Linked DNA regions of Homo sapiens: regions 1, 2, 3, 4 and 5 are each linked to region 6. The links are contacts of gene promoters, found by promoter capture Hi-C in human tissues and cell types (Jung and others, 2019). All regions are on one chromosome and are shown on one strand. Each heading gives the region's core, a stretch centred on a gene start or on the middle of the fragment in contact. The rest is flanking DNA. Distances are from core to core; before and after follow the strand shown. Region 1 has its middle 6.4 kb from the start of TCEA2. Region 2 overlaps PRPF6 (pre-mRNA processing factor 6). Region 3 has its middle 14 kb from the start of NPBWR2. Region 4 holds the start of MIR1914 (microRNA 1914). Region 5 overlaps DNAJC5 (DnaJ heat shock protein family (Hsp40) member C5). Region 6 holds the start of GMEB2 (glucocorticoid modulatory element binding protein 2).

Region 1 (2,700 bases), core at 201-2,700, 430 kb before region 6:
ATGCTCTAGTCCTGCGTGGAAGCAACTACTGCAGGCGGAGAGGTGTAGGCCCATCCTGGTGATCAGGGAACCTGCAATCCGGTGGGATGGTCCCGCCCCCGGGCAGAGGCAGGTGACTGGCCCCAGAGCCTGTGAGGAACAGTGGCCTCTAGGTGGCAGGAGTGAGCCACGGACGGGTGGGCCTCACTTCACCACCACCCCACCCCCAAGCCCCAGGGAGGTCCAGGTGGTTCCCAGCAAGAGCCACAGCTGCCCCCCAGGACTGTGAAGTGGCCGAGGTGAGAAGGTGGCCAGTCCTAGAGAGTGGCCTCGTTTGTGAGGGCTGTGGCGGCGACCAACCCTGAAACTCCCCAGTGCCCCTGGTCCCGGGTCCCTCAGGAGCTCTGGACTTCTGGGACCTTGCTCAGAGCATTCTCGCCCCCCAGCAGACCCCTCCTGGAGCTTACCGACCTCCGGACTTCCTCCTCCACGGAGCTTCCCCAGCAAGCTGCTCAGGGCCGCCAGACGCTCCCGGGCCCTCAGAATTTGCACCCAGAGGCTGACAGCATCAGAACCATCGATTCTCCTGTGGGGCCTCGCCGCAGGGTGCTGCTCCAGCCCCTACTCCCGCCCTCGGCAGCTGAAGAACTTTCCCTCCCCTGTGCGCAGGCACACATGCACACGCACACACGCAGGCGGGAGCCTCGCACACACGGGGAGCCACTGCGGACTGGTTGGCGAGTGTCTGTCTCTCACCCGGCCCAGAGGCAAGGCCTGGATCCCTCAGCCGCGTTAGGGCTACGGTTAATGTTCGGTTTCGGTTAAACCCTGAGAACAGGCGGAAATGCACGTAGCCTGAAGGGTGGCTCACAGCGGAGGCAGTGCCCACGGAGGAGAGGGACGTTCACTCACCCGCTCCAGGCGCTGGTCCTGGGAGCCACAGCCACATGACGTGCAGGTGGAGGGGAGAGGCCTCCTGACTAGGAGCTGCCACAGGGTGAGGAGTGCCTCACTCCCCTTCACGGACCCAGCGGCCGCACGACACCAGGCTAGGTCTCTGTGGTCACCTGCAGCCAGCCTCACCGGGGGCCGAGCCCCAGCAAACAGGAGGGTTCCATCTCCTCCTCCAGGGTGTCCTCCACACTCGACGTCTTTATGGACAGGGACATATGGATAGGCCTTTAGGAATTCTCTGTGGGCAACGGGGCCCTGTCCTGAGGGCTCTAAGGGGGAGATGTGACCCACCTTGGAGGTCTGAGGGGGCAGCCCTGGCCCCAACAGGCGTCTGGGGAGAAACCCCTGGTCCACCCCACAGGGCCAGCCGCACCTTTGGCCCAAAGGCCTGCCCCTCCCCCATCCTGAGTCCAGGAAACGTCGGAAACTCAGGCCATTTATTTTTCTATTTGTGTCCCCTGCCCCCTGCCCGCCCAAAGCCGGCCATGACCCCAGTGGCCGCTATCCATGCTTCCCCTCTGGCTGAGGCAGCGCCGTGGTGGGAAGGCTCCCGCTGCCAAACTCACACGGAGCCCCCCTTGCTTCCTGCAACCACAGAGCGGGGGCTGGGGATCCTGCAGCCCCAGGAGCCCCCACCCCCTGCCACCCCATGGGCAGCCCTCCCACAGCCCAAGCACCTAGGAGCCGTCTCTGCGCCCCTTTCCATCAGACCCTCCAGCCCACCTTGGGGGCTCTGCCGAGCTGTGACCCCAGTGGACCCCACCCAGGCCTCCCTTGGATGCCCCCACCAGCAGGGCAGCGACGGGGCTTAGGTCCAGCAAGTGCTCCCCTGTCCCATGCGCCAGCAGAGGAGGGCAGGGGATGGGGACTGGGCCCACTGCTCCTGGCTATGCCACTGCAGCACCCGGCTCTCTGGACCTCAGTCGCCCAGTCTGTAGAATGGGAAGAGCCACCTGCCCAGGGCAGCGTCTCTCGGAAAGTCCCCAGCCCAGCCCATAGCCTTGGCCCAGTCCCAGCTCCCTCCCACAGAAGCAACGCTGGGGGAGGCAAGAGGCATCCCCAGAGGCCAGTGGCGGCCCTGGCGGCCTGCTCCAGGCTTGCTCTAACAATGCACTTCCCCCACACAATTCCCAGAAATGCAGCCCTGCCAGCCCGCCAGCCTGGCGGCCACTCCACCCTCCCCTTCCCCAGAGGCCCCAGGCAGCCGTGGGGTCGGGGCTATGGGTGAAGCCTAGAGACCTGACTCACAGGGCAGCAAAACCAGGGTTCCCTGAGGCGGCACCTCCCAGGGGCCCAGGCCTCCCAGAGAGAGACCAGGGAGACTCCTGGGGCAGCCAGATGGGGTCTGAGAGCAAACCTTGGCCAGGCTCCCGCCGCGGCAGAAGCAGAGCCCCCTGCCTTCTGGCAGGGGACTGCCCGTCCCTCCTGCCCCGCACAGCCCCGTCTTCACGTAGCAGCTGAGCTGAGGCAGATCACACTCCACTCAGAACCTCCCAAGGTCCCACCTCACTCAGAAAATGCAAGACCCTCCCAGAGCCAACTCAGCCCCTTGTTCCCTCTGAGCCTCATCCCCTCCTCTCTGCACCCCCTGCTCTGCTCACACCAGCAGACTTCCCTGCCCCAGGGCCTTGGCACATGCTCCTCCCTCTGTGAAAAGACTCCTCCCATGAACCCCCAAGGGCAAAAGCCACGTGTGGCCCTGACACAGCCCCTCCCTATACCTGATGAACCCCCAAGGGCAAAAGCCATGTGTGGCCCTGACACAGC
Region 2 (2,700 bases), core at 156-2,655, 370 kb before region 6:
ATTTCTGGCATCGCCAACCTCGGGGATGCTCAGCCACTCTTCTTCTGTGACTTCTGCCAACTTCCTCTGGAAATATCCAGCCCCCAAAAACATTAATTCTCTGACAGAATTTCATGTGCCCAGGTAGGACCATGCCCTCTCTCACCCCTAGCCTCCAGATCACCAAGCTTTAGAAGGGATTTGGATGCAGCAACTGTTTTTTACTTTTGTTTTGAGATGGGTCTCATTCTGTTGCCCAGGCTGGATTCAGTGGCACAATCACAGCTCACTGCAGCCTCAACCTCCCAGGCTCAAGTGATCCTCCCACTTCAGCTTCTCAAGTTGCTGGGACCACAAGCGTGGGCCACCATGCCTGGCTAAGTTTTTATTTTTTGTAAAGACAGGTTCTCCCCAAGGCTGGTCTCAAACTCCTGGGCTCAAGTGATCCTCCCACCTCAGCCTCCCAAAGTGCTGAGATTACAGATGTGAGCCACTGTACCCAGCCCCAAAAATAGTTTTCTACTTCACTTAGAAAAATCAATTTAGGCCGGGCACGGTGGCTCATGCCTGTTAATCCCAGCACTTTGGGAGGCCAAAGCGGGCAGATCACCTGAGGTCGGGAGTTCGAGACCAGCCTGACCAACATGGAGAAACCCCATCTCTACTAAAAATACAAAATTAGCCGGGCATGGTGGCACATGCCTGTAATCCCAGCTACTAGGGAGGCTGAGGCAGGAGAATCGTTTGAACCTGGGAGGCGGAGGTTGCGGTGAGCTGAGATCGCGTCATTGCACTCCAGCCTGGGCAACAAGAGCCAAACTCCGTCTCAAAAAAAAAAAAAAAAGAAAAAGAAAAGAAAAATCAATTTATTGGATCTGTTCAACTTCACTAAAATGTAAATTATTCTCTCAAAGCCCAGGGGACACAGTTTAGAAAATCTTACGTATAAATGGGGCCAGACGTGGTGGCTCACGCCTGTAATCCCAGCCCTTTGGGAGGCTGAGGTGGGCAGATCACTAGAGTTCAGGAGTTTGAGACCAGCCTGGTACACATGGCGAAATCCTGTCTTTACTAAAAATACAAAAATTAGCTGGGTATGGTGGCAGGCACCTGTAATCCCAGCTACTTAGGAGGCTGAGGCACAAGAATTGCTTGAACCTAGGAGGTGAAGGTTGCAGTGAGCTGAGACCACGCCACTGCACTCCAGCCAGGGCAACAGAGCCAGACTGCCTCCAAAAAAAAAAAGAAAAAAGAAAAAAGAAAATCTTAGGTATAAATGGAGTCAAAATTACAAAGAAAATAAGTTCATTTGTCCTACCTTTTACAGTAGGGGAAGGGTTTTTTTTTACACACATATAATTAAACATACTGAAGCAAACACTTTCTTCTTCTAAGCAATGACCCCCTAAATTAAAAACGTAAAGTCTCATAAATTCCACGTAAGAGCAGTCTGAGTCTCTGCGGGTTAGGGTGAGAGCGTTAGAAACCGCACACCATTCACCGCTTCATCGGCTCACCTTGAGGTCTGAGAACTGCTGTTGGATTTTGGGGCGTTCCATACGATATTTCTCTATTTCTTCTTTCTCCCTTTGCTCCCTAGGAAATAAAACATGCACACATCAGAAACACTGCATGTCTGTTCTGAAGCAAATTTATTATCCATCTCAATTAAATCACCAAAAAGAACAATTCCATACTCTTAGTAGCTAAATCAAATATATATATATATATATACATATACACACACACACACACACACACACACACACACACACATTTTTTTTTTTGAGATGGAGTCTTGCTCTGTCACCCAGGCTAAAGTGCAGTGGCGCAATCTCAGCTCACTGCAACCTCCACCTCCTGGGTTTAAGTGATTTTCCTGCCTCAGCCTCCCAAGTAGCTGGGATTACAGGTGCTCGCCACCACTCCCAGCTAATTTTTGTGTTTTTAGTAGAGACGGGGTTTCACCATCCTGGCCAGGCTGTTCTCGAACTCCTGACCTTGTGATCTACCCACCTTGGCCTCCCAAAGTGCTGGGATTACAGGTGTGAGCCACCGCACCCAGCCCAAATCAAATATATTTTAAGGTAACTATGAATACATTCTTAGCTGGGCATGGTAGCACACACCTGTAATCACAGCTACTTGGGAGGCTGAGGCAGAATCATTTGAACCCAGGAGGCAGAGGGTGCAGTGAGCCAAGATCGCACCACTGCACTCCAGCCTGGGCAACACAGAGAGACTCTGCCTCTAAATAAATAAATATAAATACATTCGTAAGTCTACTAATTCAATTATCCACCAAATAAAAACATGTAGAAATTCATTAAAATAAAAAAAAAAGATCTTACTTTGATCTAAATACCTCCATTTGGACATGTGTATATTTACTGCTTGAAAATTCACAAAATCCCAAAGGTAGGACCATCCCATAAACACCTAAGAAGGCCAGGCGTGGTGGCTTACACCTGTAATCCCAACGCTTTGGGAGGCCGAGGTGGGCAGATCACCTGAGGTCAGGAGTTCAAGCCTGGCCAATGTGGTAAAACCCCATCTATACTAAAAATATGAAAATTAGCCAGGCGTGGTGGCGCATGCCTGTTATCCCAGCTACTCAGGAGGCTGAGGTAGGAGAATTGCTTGAACCTGGGAGGTGGAAGTTGCAGGGAGCCAAGATCATGCCATTGCACTCCAGCCTGGGTGACAAGAGTGAAACTTCGT
Region 3 (2,700 bases), core at 9-2,508, 490 kb before region 6:
CGTGTTCTCCAGGCTTTCTCAGGACCTCTCGAAATCGTGTTCTCCAGGCTTTCTCAGGACCTCTCGAAACCGTGTTCTCCAGGCTTTCCCAGGAGCTCTCGAAACCGTGTTCTCCAGGCTTTCTCAGCACCTCTCGAAACTGTGTTCTCCAGGCTTTCTAAGGAAACTCAAAACTGTGTTCTCCAGGCTTTCTCAGGACCTCTCGAAACTGTTCTCCAGGCTTTCTCAGGAAACTCGAAACTGTGTTCTCCAGGCTTTCTCAGAACCTCTCGAAACTGTTTTCTCCAGGCCATGGTCATTCATATTGACTCAGAATAAACCTCTTTAAAATATTTTACAGAATCTGTTTTTTTCCATTAACGTTATTGAGTTTTGAGAGTTCTTGATATACTCTGGATACAAGTCCTTTATCAAATATGTGATTTGCAAAAATTGTCTTACAGCCTTGGGCTTGTCTTTTCATTTTCTTAGCAGTGTCTTTGGAATAGCAGAAGTTCTTAGTTTTGATGAAACATCTTATTTATTTGATGGATTATGTTTTGATATCCTATCTAATAATGTTTTGCCTGATCTAAGTTTGCAAAGGTTTTCTTCTATGTCCTCTTATAGAAGTTTTATAATTTTAGCTTTTACATTTAGGTTTATGATCCATATTGACAATATTTTAATATAGTACAAGGTATGGATCAAAGTTCATTTTTTTGCATATGGATATCCAACTGTTTAGCATCATTTACTGAGAACAAAACTTGCCTTTATTGAATTGCCTTTGCAGCTTTGTTGAAAATCACTTGCTCATATTTGTGGGTCTATTTCTGGTATCTCTAATTTGTTCTATTGATCTGTCTATCTTGATGCAAATACCACACTGTCTTTTTTTAAAATATTATTTCTTTTATCATGATACTTCTCTTTCTTCTTTCTTTTTTTTTTTTTTTTTGACAGTGTCTCACTCCGTCACCCAGGCTGGAGTGCAGTAGTGAGATCTCAGCTCACTGCAACCTCCGCCTCCCAGGATCAAGTGATTCTCGTGCCTCAGCCTCCTGAGTAGCTGGAATTACAGGTGTGTGCCACCACGCCTGGCTACATTTTTTGTATTTTTAGTAGAGACGGGGTTTCACCATGTTGGCCAGGCTGATCTCAAACTCCTGACCTCAAGTGATCCACCCACCTCAGCCTCCCCAGGAGCTGAGAACTCTGGCAGGGAGACTCTGTGGTGTAGGAACCCCAGGTCTCCAGCCATGTCTGAAAAACAGTGTTAACCCACGGCTTCACCCCAGCTTTGAAACACCTGGGTGTTCTTCAGAAATACCTGCTATAGTTTGGACGTTTGTCCCCGAACCTCATGTTGAAATTTAATCCCCGATGTTGGAGGCGGGGCCTGGTGGGAGGTGTTCGGGTCATAGGGAAGGATCCAGAATGAATGGTTTAGTGCCCTCCTCATGGTGATGAGTGAGTTCTTGCTCTATTAGTTCCCACACGAGCTGGTTGTTTTAAAAAAATCCTGGCATCGCCCCTCTCTCTCGCCTCTTCTCTTACCATGAGACACCTCCCGCCATGAGTGCACGCTCCCTGAGGCCTCCCCAGAAGCAGGTGCCGGCACCGTGCTTCCCGTACACCCTGCAGAACCGTGAGCCAAACAAACCTCTTTTCTTTATAATGGCCCAGCCTCTATCCTTCTCCTCACCTAGGAAAAAGAAAAAGAAATTACCCAGCCTCAGATATTCCTTCATAGCAACACAAAACTAGGACAACACTGGTGCCCAGGCCCCAGCCCAGACCAAGCACATCAGAGCCTGGGCATGGGGGTGGAACCAGCTCCAGTGAGCTCCTGAAGTCCCCAGGGGATTCTGTGCACATCCAGGGTGGAGAACTTGGCCGTAGACAGTCCAGACAAAAATATTCTTTATACGATTAGCACAGAGTTGTTGTTTAAACTCAGTGGTAAGAACAGAACACAAGAGTTTTAACAGGAGTCATAGTTTTCACCATTAAGAATCTTTACCTACTATTGGAATCCAGGTACACACATTTACCCTGGGGTTTAATTTGCTGTGTAAAATTGACTTGGTTCTTTTACAAATTGCTGGCAAGTTGAGGTTGGGGCCACCACAAAACAAGTCTCTAGCAAGACAAAGAGCATAGTTGTGTGTTTGGGTCTCTCCACACCAGAATGGAGCTCCTTGTGGGCAGAGGCTGGCTTGCCCCTTGTCTTAGTCTGTTTCCTGCTGCTTATAACAGAAACTGGGTAATTTAAAAGAAACAAAATGTATTTCTTACAGTTCTGCGGGCTGGGAAGTCCAAGGTCAATGGGCCACATCTGGTGAGGTTTTCTTGCTGGTGGGAACCCCAGAGTCCCAAGGCAGTGCAGGGCGTCGCATGGTGAGGGGCTGAGCGTGCTGGCTCAGGTCTCTCTCTTCTTATAAAGCTACTAGCCCCACTCCTATGATAACCCATTAATCTATAAATAAATTAATCTATTCATGAGGGCAGAGCTCTTGTGACCCAATCACCTCTTAAAGGCCCCACCTCTCAATACTGCCACATTGGGGATTAAATTCCAACTTGAGTTTTGGAGGTGACAAATATTCAAACCACAGCATCCTTAAATCATCAGAGACTGGCCTGCCTGCCCCCATGTCCACTCGAAAATGAATGCCGCGCAAGCCCCCACCCCCACCCTACTGAATGGTCCCTTTT
Region 4 (2,700 bases), core at 37-2,536, 310 kb before region 6:
TCTTGAGGGGCCGCGCACCACCTCGGGGAGGAGCCAGGGCGGGGCCTGACCCCACAAAGCTTTAGTTCCCCCGGGGAGAGGCTGGGGACAAGCTACCCATTCTGGGGTATGACACCTATCAGCACGTGTGAGCCCGCCCTGTGCCCGGCCCACTTCTGCTTCCTCTTAGCGCAGGAGGGGTCCCGCACTGGGAGGGGCCCTCACAGCCTACCCCGCTAGCTTTCTGCCTGATGGTGAGCTTGCCCCGTTGTTCGCCGCCATCTTTCGCCTTTGCCTGACAGCTCAGGTAGGGCGACGTCTCCCCCCAGCTCAGCCCCAGGCAGAAGTCAGGCCCGCTCTGCACCTCGTGCTGTGCCTGGCCCGTGTGTTCCCCTCACAGTGACGCACAGCCGTCCTGTGGGGAGGGAGGGCTCTGGGAAAAGACCCCCTTCTTGAGTGTTCCCCATCGGTTTGTCCCCAGGGCTGCGCTGGCCTCGGCACACCAGTGCCACCCGCTGCCCCGGACGCTGAGCGTCCTGAAGAGCACGCCGCAGGTACGGGGCATGCACACCATCATCAGGTGAGGGCCCACCTGGGGACGGGGCGGCCCCGGGCGCGTGCTCCCGCTCAACTGTTGGCCCCACAGGGACAAGGAGACCAGTCGCGACGAGTTCATCTTCTACTCCAAGAGACTGATGCGGCTGCTCATCGAGCACGCGCTCTCCTTCCTGCCCTTTCAGGTTCGTAGCCCGTAGCCCGCGAGGTGGAGGGTGGGTCTTGGAGCCGGTGCGAGCTCCCTGCGCTCACCGGAGTCCTCACCCTGCACCCCACAGGACTGCGTCGTACAGACCCCGCAGGGGCAGGACTATGCGGGCAAGTGCTATGCGGGGAAGCAGGTACCTGCCTGGGCACACCTGGGCGCGGGACAGGCTGCTGGGGCGGGATGTGGGCGCTTAGCCTCCCCTCCCCGCAGATCACCGGTGTGTCCATTCTGCGCGCCGGTGAAACCATGGAGCCCGCGCTGCGCGCTGTGTGCAAAGACGTGCGCATCGGCACCATCCTCATCCAGACCAACCAGCTTACCGGGGAGCCCGAGGTGCCTGGGGGCAGCCGGGGTGATGAGCCCGGGGGTAGGGGGCAGAGGGAGCTCACAGCAAGGGGACGCAGGGAGCCCCACCTGCAGCCTGACCCCTGCTGCCCGCAGCTCCACTACCTGAGGCTGCCCAAGGACATCAGCGATGACCACGTGATCCTCATGGACTGCACCGTGTCCACGGGCGCGGCGGCCATGATGGCAGTGCGCGTGCTCCTGGTGAGTGAGCCCTGGGTAGGCGGGGCAGGTTCAGGCAGAGGTGGGATTTACCTGCCCAATACACTCGGTAGGACCACGACGTGCCTGAGGACAAGATCTTTTTGCTGTCGCTGCTCATGGCAGAGATGGGCGTGCACTCAGTGGCCTATGCATTTCCGCGAGTGAGAATCATCACCACGGCGGTGGACAAGCGGGTCAATGACCTTTTCCGCATCATCCCAGGCATTGGTGAGGCTGCCCGGGCCCTTCAGCCGCACATGAGGGCAGGGTGGGTGGCCCTGGGAGGCCCCACCACACTGGACCCCCCCCCCCCTTTTTCCAGGGAACTTTGGCGACCGCTACTTTGGGACAGACGCGGTCCCCGATGGCAGTGACGAGGAGGAAGTGGCCTACACGGGTTAGCTGCCCAGTGAGCCATCCCGTCCCCACCACCCTCCTCCTGCCTCCTGACCCAGGACTGCTGAATACAAAGATGTTAATTTTTAAAATGTTACTAGTATAATTTATTCTATGCATTTTATAAAATAAATAAAGCTTTAGAAAAATGAAGGTGTGATTGGTTACAGCACAGGAGAGGTGTCCTGGCTGAGGCATGCATTTGTGGAGACTCCCATGGGGAGGGAGGGAGGGAGCTGAGGGCCCTGCCTTCTCCCCTGCAGGACCAAGCATTCCCAGTCTTGCACTTGTGCCAGATGAAGGAAGGGGTAGAACTGGGCCCTGCAGCTCCTAGCTCTGCTAGATGGGGCCCCTAGAACCCATAGCTTGGTGGCCACCTGGCCTGGACCTAGGGAGGGGACAGGGCCCCCTGGTGCTCTGGGTCTCACAAGAGGCAGGCTGTTTTGCCCCCACCCACAAATTTGTACCATCAGGGTCCTCCCCACAGTTGGGGGGGGGGAGGGTCCTTCCCGTCAGGACAAGTCGCTGGAGGCAGCAAAGCCAGGAGGCAGACCAGGGCGGAAGTGGGGGCCTGCGCTTGGAGGCGGGGCCACCCGGGGCCCACGAGCCCGGAGCCACTGCTGCTCAGGGCCCGCCTCGCTCACCCCTCCAGACCTGGAGGCCCACCCGCATCCCGTGCTCTCTGCCGTGCCCACGCCCGCAAGCGTGGGTTCCCTTAGGTCCTGCCCACCCTGCTTTCCGAGCAGGCCCCCCCCGGGCTCCCCGAGAGGAGTCGCCGCCGTGGTTTACTGAGGAAGAGGAGGTGCACGCGCGGCGCCCACACGTCGGGCCCCGGAGAGGCCCAGATAACTGAATCAGCCTCCCGGGGCTCAGCCGTGGAGCTGAGGGCTGATGCTGGGGACTCAGCCGTGGGCCAGGCGCATCTGACACGGGACACGGTCGTCCCCGTCCTCTCAGGCGCCAGTGTCTTTCTGCGTGGAAGTCCACGGCCAAAAGCGTGGCGTCCTCGGAGC
Region 5 (2,700 bases), core at 24-2,523, 290 kb before region 6:
CAACCTCCACCTTCCAGGCTCAAGCGATTCTCCTGCCGTAGCCTCCTGAATAGCTGGGACTACAGGCACGTACCACCACGCCTGGCTAATTTTTGTATTTTTAGTAGAGATTGGGTTTTGCCATGTTGGCTAGGCTGGTCTGGAACTCCTGACCTCAGGTGAGCCACCCGCCTCAGCCTCCCAAAGTGCTGGGGATTACAGGCATGAGCCACCATGTCCGGCTAAAACCTAGATTTTTAGAAAGGAATGAAGACCACTGGAAATGGTAAATACCTAGGTAAAACACCATTTTTTGCTTTTTTGTTTGTTTGGAGACAGGGTCTTGCTCTGTCACCCAGGCTGGAATGCAGTGGTGTGATAAGGGATCATGGCAGCCTCAACCTCTCAGACTCAAGTGATCCTCCCAACACAGCCTCCTGAATAGGTGGGACTACAGGCGTGAGCCACCATGCCAGCTAAGTTTTTAGAAATTTTTTGCAGAGACGGGGTCTATGTTGCTCAGGCTGATCTTGAATTCCTTGGCTCAAGTGATCCTCCTGCCTTGGGTCATGGTCACCAAAGTGCCGAGATCACAGGAGCCAACCCTTTCTGATGTCTATTTTTTTTTTTTTTTTGAGACAGAGTCTCACTCTGTCACCCAAACTGGATGGAGTGCAATGGTGCAATCTTGGCTCCATGCACCCTCCACCACCCAGGTTCAAGCGATTCTCCTGCCTCAGCCTGCCAAGTGGCTGGGATTACAGGCGCGCGCCACCACACCCAGCTAATTTTTTTGTATTTTTAGTACAGATGGGCTTCACCATGTTGGCCAGGATAGTCTTGAACTCCTGACCTCAGGTGACCCGCCTGCCTCGGCCTCTCGAAGTGCTGGGATTACAGGCGTGAGCCACCAACCTGGACTGCCTATTTCCTTGGGGTAATGAGTCCGGGAGTTTGCCACCTGATGTTTGAAGTAGCACCTCACAACTTCATTCTTCCTAAACTTGGTTTAAATTTCAAGGGGGCCGGGAGTGGTGGCTCACGCCTGTAATTCCAGCACTTTGGGAGGCTGAGGTGGTTGAATCACCTGAGATCAAGAGTTTGAGACCAGCCTGGCCAACGTGGTGAAACCTCATCTCTACTACAAATACAAAAATTAGCTGGGTGTGACGGTGTGCATCTGTAATCCCAGCTAGTTGGGAGGCTGAGGCAGGAGGATGGCTTGAACCCGGGAGGAGGAGGTTGCAGTGAACTGAAATTGCACCACTGGACGTCAGCCTGGGTGACAGAGTGAGACCCTGTCTCCAAAAAAAAAACTTTCAAGGGGATCCCATGTCAACAGAAAGGTTATAACACAGTTAAAGGAGAGGCCTGGTGTGCAGCCGCAGCTACACGAGCAGCACGTGCTGCAACCTGCTGCAAGTGACGAGCTGCCATCAGCGTTATTCGCAGTCTTCATTTCTGGAGGGCTAAGTTCCAACCTTCAGTCAGAACTCTTTTTTTTTTTTTTTGAGACGGAGTCTCGCTCTGTCTCCCAGGCTGGAGTGCAGTGGCACTATCTCGGCTTGCTGCAAGCTCCGCCTCCCGGGTTCACGCCATTCTTCTGCCTCAGCCTCCTGAGTAGCTGGGACTACAGGCACCCGCCACCACGCCCGGCTAATTTTTTGCAGTTTTAGTAGAGACGGGGTTTCACCGTGTTAGCCAGGATGGTCTTGATCACCACACCTCGTGATCCACCAGCCTCGGCCTCCCAAAGTGCTGGGATTACAGGTGTGAGCCACCAGGCCCGGCCTCAGTCAGAACTCTTTTAGTGACATCATTATCTTTAAAAAGCAAACAAGGTGGCCGGGCACGGTGGCTCAAGCTTGTAATCCCAAAACTTTGGGAGGCTGAGGAGGGCGGATCACCTGAGGTCAGGAGTTTGAGGCCAGCCTGACCAACATGGAGAAACCCCATCTCTACTAAAAATGCAAAATTAGCCGGGCGTGATGGCACATGCCTGTAATCCCACCTACTCAGGAGGCTGAGGTAGAAGAATCACTTGAACCCGGGAGGTGGAGTTTGCAGCGAGCTGAGACCGTGCCGTTGCACTCCAGTCTGCGTAACAATAGTGAAACTCCGTCTCAAAACAAAACAAAATAAAAAAAAGCAAACAAGGCTTTGGGAGGCTGAGGCAGGTGGATTGCTTCTTGTGGCCAGGAGTTCGAGACCAGCCTGACCAACATGGAGAAAACCTGTCTCTACTAAAAATACAAAATTAACTGGGTGTGGTGGCACACACCTGTAATCCCAGCTACTCAGGAGGCTGAGGCAGGAGAATCGCTTGAACCCTCGAGGGGGAGGTTGCAGTGAGCCGAGATCTCACCACTGCACTCCAGCCTGGGTGACAGAGTCAGACTCAGTCTCAAAAATAAATAAATAAATAAAAATTAAAAATTAAAAGCAAACAAAAAGGGTCACGTTTTACAAATCCAGCGTATCCCAGTCCGTTCTGCTGGCAGCAGCCCCAGGGCCCGCACACATGCCTAGGCAGACAAGACCGCACACGTGCAGGGACGCTGAGCTTCTGAAATGGCGGGGACCCGTGTCCTCCCTCCCTACGCCAGGGCAGCCACTCTATGACCTCGGCTCCTTCACAGCCCTGGCTGTAGCCTGAGGCCCCCGCATGGCGGGCATCCCCACCAGACGTTGGCGGACGAGAGCCCTGCTGACGCCAGCCCC
Region 6 (2,700 bases), core at 121-2,620:
GAAGTGCAGTGGCTTGGGAACCTCCCGTTCCGGGAGGCGGCCTGCAGAGCCCTCCTCCTACAAGTGTGAGCACAGGGTCAGGGTTCCATCCAAGCGAGCACCTGCTTCCTATTTTCCGACTAATTTCGGTCCCCTGATACGGAATCCGGGATCCTGCAGACAGGCAGCGGGTGACAGCAAGCACAAGGGTGTTCGATGACACCTGGAGAGGTCAGGAGAGCCAGTCCTGCGGTGCAGAGGAAGAAACCCAGCACAGAGGCCAACAGAGCCAGCCCCAGCCTCTGCCAATAAAACATATAAATGAGCCCTGGGGGCTGGAGGAGGGCCACAGGATCCAAGCTGGCTGCCGGATCCGAGTGGGATCGGGGTGCCGACTGTGGGACATGGGTGGGATGGGGTGCCGGCTGCGGGACTCGGGTGGGATCGGGGTGCGGGCTATAGGACTGGGGCGGGATCGGGGTGTCATCTATGGGATCGAGGTGCTGGCTATGGGACTGGGGTGGGATCGGGGTGCTGGCTATGGGACTGGGGTGGGATCGGGGTATCAGCTATGCTATGCGATCGGGGTGAGTGCCGGCTGTGGGATCGGGGTGCCGGCTGCGGGACTGGGGTGGGATCGGGGTGCCGGCTGTGGGACAGCGGTGGGATCGGGGTGGGTGCCAGCTGTTGGGCTGGGGTGGGATCGGGGTGCCAGCTGCGGGACTGGGGTGGGATCGGGGTGCCGGCCGTGGGACAGCGGTGGGACCGGGGTGTTAGCTATGGGATTGGGGTGGGTGCCGGCTGTTGGGCAGGGGTGGGATCGGGGTGTCGGCTGTGGGACTGCGATAGGATCGGGGTGCTGGTTGTGGGACTGGGGTGACAGCTTGAGGGGTGACCGAGCCCTCCCGGCCGCTCCCGGATGCCCCTCGCCCTCCACGCTGGGAGCGCCGTGGCTGGCTGAGCCTCTGGCATGTTCCGCGTGAGTCCGCGCACCCTACAGCGTCCTCCTCCACAGCCTCGTGTTCAGGCGTCCGCCCCGCAGGGGAGTCCCCTCGCGCCCATTCACACACAGCAGCGTCCGGGCGAGGAGCGCCCGTACCTGGAGGCCTGAAGGTACCGCCCTGCCGCGCGTGGGCACTGCTCCCTGGCGCCGTCCGTCCACTGACCATCGTCCCTCGGCCCGGCCGCCCGCGCGGGGCAGGCAACGCCCGACCGGGGGCCTCGGGGACCAGGAGGAACCTGCGGCGTTAGGAGCTGACAGTGTCGGTCCGCGCACGCGCCCCGGGGCCCGTCGGGCCTTATTTCACGGCCCCGCCTTCCTCCTCCGCGAGCGCCAAATAAGTGTCCGGCCCTCCCAGCCCCGTGCGTGCGCGGCCCCGCCGCCTGCGTCACTAGGAAGCGCGCGCCCGCGCCGCCGCCGCCGCCGAATCCCCAACAAGGAGCGAAGCCCGCGGCCGCCGCCGCCGCCCGCCGCCGCCGCAGCTCCCGACGCCGCCGCCCCCGCCGGGTGCCTAAGCAGGCCCGGCGCGGCCCCAGGTAAGCGGCGCCGGCGAGCCCGCGGCCCCCCCGCGGCGAGGCCTCTCGCTCCGCTCACGCGCCGCCGTCCAGTCAGGGGTCCCTGCGGAGCGTCAGGACGTTACGGCGGGGGGAGGGGAGGGCCGGGGGAGGGGCGGCCGCGCGGGCGGCGGCGTCAGGCGCAACGGCGGCGTCAGGCGGGCGGCGCGGGCGGTGGCGGGCGCGGGCGGCGGCGCTTCCTGCCTCCATCTTGGCGCCGCGGGCGGGCGCGGGCTCGGCCTCCAGCGGCCTCCTCGGTGGACCCATCCCGGGGGGACCACGCCGCAGGGGTGCGACCCGCAGGGACCACCCCGCAGGCACCCGACCCGCAGGGACGCGACCCACAGGGACCACCCCGCAGGCACCCGACCCGCAGGGGCCACCACGCGACCCGCAGGGGCCACCCCACAGGGACGCGACCCACAGGGACCACCCCACAGGGACGCGACCCACAAGGACCACCCCGCAGGCACCCGACCCGCAGGGACGCGATCCCCAGGGGCCACCCCGCAGGCACCCGACCCGCAGGGACGCGATCCCCAGGGGCCACCCCGCAGGCACCCGACCCGCAGGGACGCGATTCCCAGGGGCCACCCCGCAGGCACCCGACCCGCAGGGACGCGACCCATAGGGACCACCCCGCAGGCACCCGACCCGCAGGGGCCACCCGGCAGGCACCCAACTCGCAGGGACGCGACCCGCAGGGATCACCCCACTGGGACCCACTCTCAGGGACCTGACCTGCAGGGACCACCCCACAGGGGCCCGCGTCACTGTAGGCTCACAGGCGGGACCTGGATCTGTGTAGACCCATGGTGGTGTGGACCCTGTTGGTCGGAGCTGATTTGTTGTGGGCCCGTCGTCAGTCATGGCATGTTATCTATTTGGTTACTGTGTAATTCATGCGTGACTGAAAAGTCGTGACTGACTTTTCTGTTGAACCAGAATTCTCTTTCTTTGCTAACACTTCAAATACAACAGTTTCAATTACATCAGTGTTGACCGTGCCGGTCAAGAATACTAGTTTAAAAATATTTTCTTGGGCCAGGTGTGATGGCTCACACCTGTAATCCCACCACTTTGGGAGCCCGACGTGGGCGGATCATGAGGTCAGGAGTTTGAGAGCAGCCTGGCTAACACGGTGAAACCCTGTCTCTACTAAAAATA

Evidence for each region. The method cuts DNA at HindIII sites, captures the fragments that hold promoters and counts their contacts. A contact is called where the count stands out against the background at its distance.
Region 1: a contact is called between a fragment that was not itself captured here and the fragment with the promoter of GMEB2 in region 6, in 2 of the 25 tissues and cell types used here (dorsolateral prefrontal cortex and lymphoblastoid cells).
Region 2: a contact is called between a fragment that was not itself captured here and the fragment with the promoter of GMEB2 in region 6, in 2 of the 25 tissues and cell types used here (dorsolateral prefrontal cortex and spleen).
Region 3: a fragment that was not itself captured here is called in contact with the fragment with the promoter of GMEB2 in region 6 in 1 of the 25 tissues and cell types used here (dorsolateral prefrontal cortex).
Region 4: a contact is called between a fragment that was not itself captured here and the fragment with the promoter of GMEB2 in region 6, in 5 of the 25 tissues and cell types used here (H1 embryonic stem cells, dorsolateral prefrontal cortex, lymphoblastoid cells and 2 more).
Region 5: a fragment that was not itself captured here is called in contact with the fragment with the promoter of GMEB2 in region 6 in 2 of the 25 tissues and cell types used here (dorsolateral prefrontal cortex and lymphoblastoid cells).

What each region holds. Positions count from the first base shown.
Region 1 is chr20:64,055,402-64,058,101 of GRCh38, reverse strand. It overlaps a transcript of TCEA2 not described here. Among named protein-coding and RNA genes, the nearest start is that of TCEA2, 6.4 kb to the left of the region's middle. RefSeq lists enhancers at 1-332, 333-1,022, 1,713-2,402, 2,403-2,700. The HindIII fragment of the contact is 6,157 bases long and covers 1-2,700 here.
Region 2 is chr20:63,992,282-63,994,981 of GRCh38, reverse strand. PRPF6 (pre-mRNA processing factor 6) reads right to left here. Exons shown (of 21, transcript NM_012469.4): 4 at 1,497-1,575; 5 at 1-66. Among named protein-coding and RNA genes, the nearest start is that of PRPF6, 12 kb to the right of the region's middle. The HindIII fragment of the contact is 7,819 bases long and covers 1-2,700 here.
Region 3 is chr20:64,120,644-64,123,343 of GRCh38, reverse strand. No RefSeq gene overlaps it. Among named protein-coding and RNA genes, the nearest start is that of NPBWR2, 14 kb to the right of the region's middle. RefSeq lists enhancers at 1-230, 2,634-2,700, 2,597-2,700. The HindIII fragment of the contact is 5,841 bases long and covers 1-2,700 here.
Region 4 is chr20:63,938,969-63,941,668 of GRCh38, reverse strand. It overlaps UCKL1 (uridine-cytidine kinase 1 like 1), which reads left to right. Exons shown (of 15, transcript NM_017859.4): 9 at 461-559; 10 at 626-719; 11 at 813-875; 12 at 953-1,075; 13 at 1,184-1,291; 14 at 1,363-1,519; 15 at 1,614-1,840. The coding sequence ends at 1,693. MIR1914 (microRNA 1914) reads left to right here and starts at 125; the gene lies at 125-204. The HindIII fragment of the contact is 6,155 bases long and covers 1-2,700 here.
Region 5 is chr20:63,920,381-63,923,080 of GRCh38, reverse strand. The region is part of intron 1 of DNAJC5 (DnaJ heat shock protein family (Hsp40) member C5); the gene reads right to left. It overlaps LOC124904951, which reads right to left. Exons shown (of 1, transcript XM_047440634.1): 1 at 2,646-2,700. Among named protein-coding and RNA genes, the nearest start is that of MIR941-5, 1.9 kb to the right of the region's middle. RefSeq lists an enhancer at 2,625-2,700. The HindIII fragment of the contact is 6,938 bases long and covers 1-2,700 here.
Region 6 is chr20:63,625,771-63,628,470 of GRCh38, reverse strand. It overlaps GMEB2 (glucocorticoid modulatory element binding protein 2), which reads left to right and starts at 1,370. Exons shown (of 10, transcript NM_012384.5): 1 at 1,370-1,515. MHENCR (melanoma highly expressed competing endogenous lncRNA for miR-425 and miR-489) reads right to left here and starts at 1,236. Exons shown (of 2, transcript NR_132417.1): 1 at 1,079-1,236; 2 at 1-281. RefSeq lists silencers at 929-1,378, 1,469-2,008. The HindIII fragment of the contact is 46,766 bases long and covers 1-2,700 here.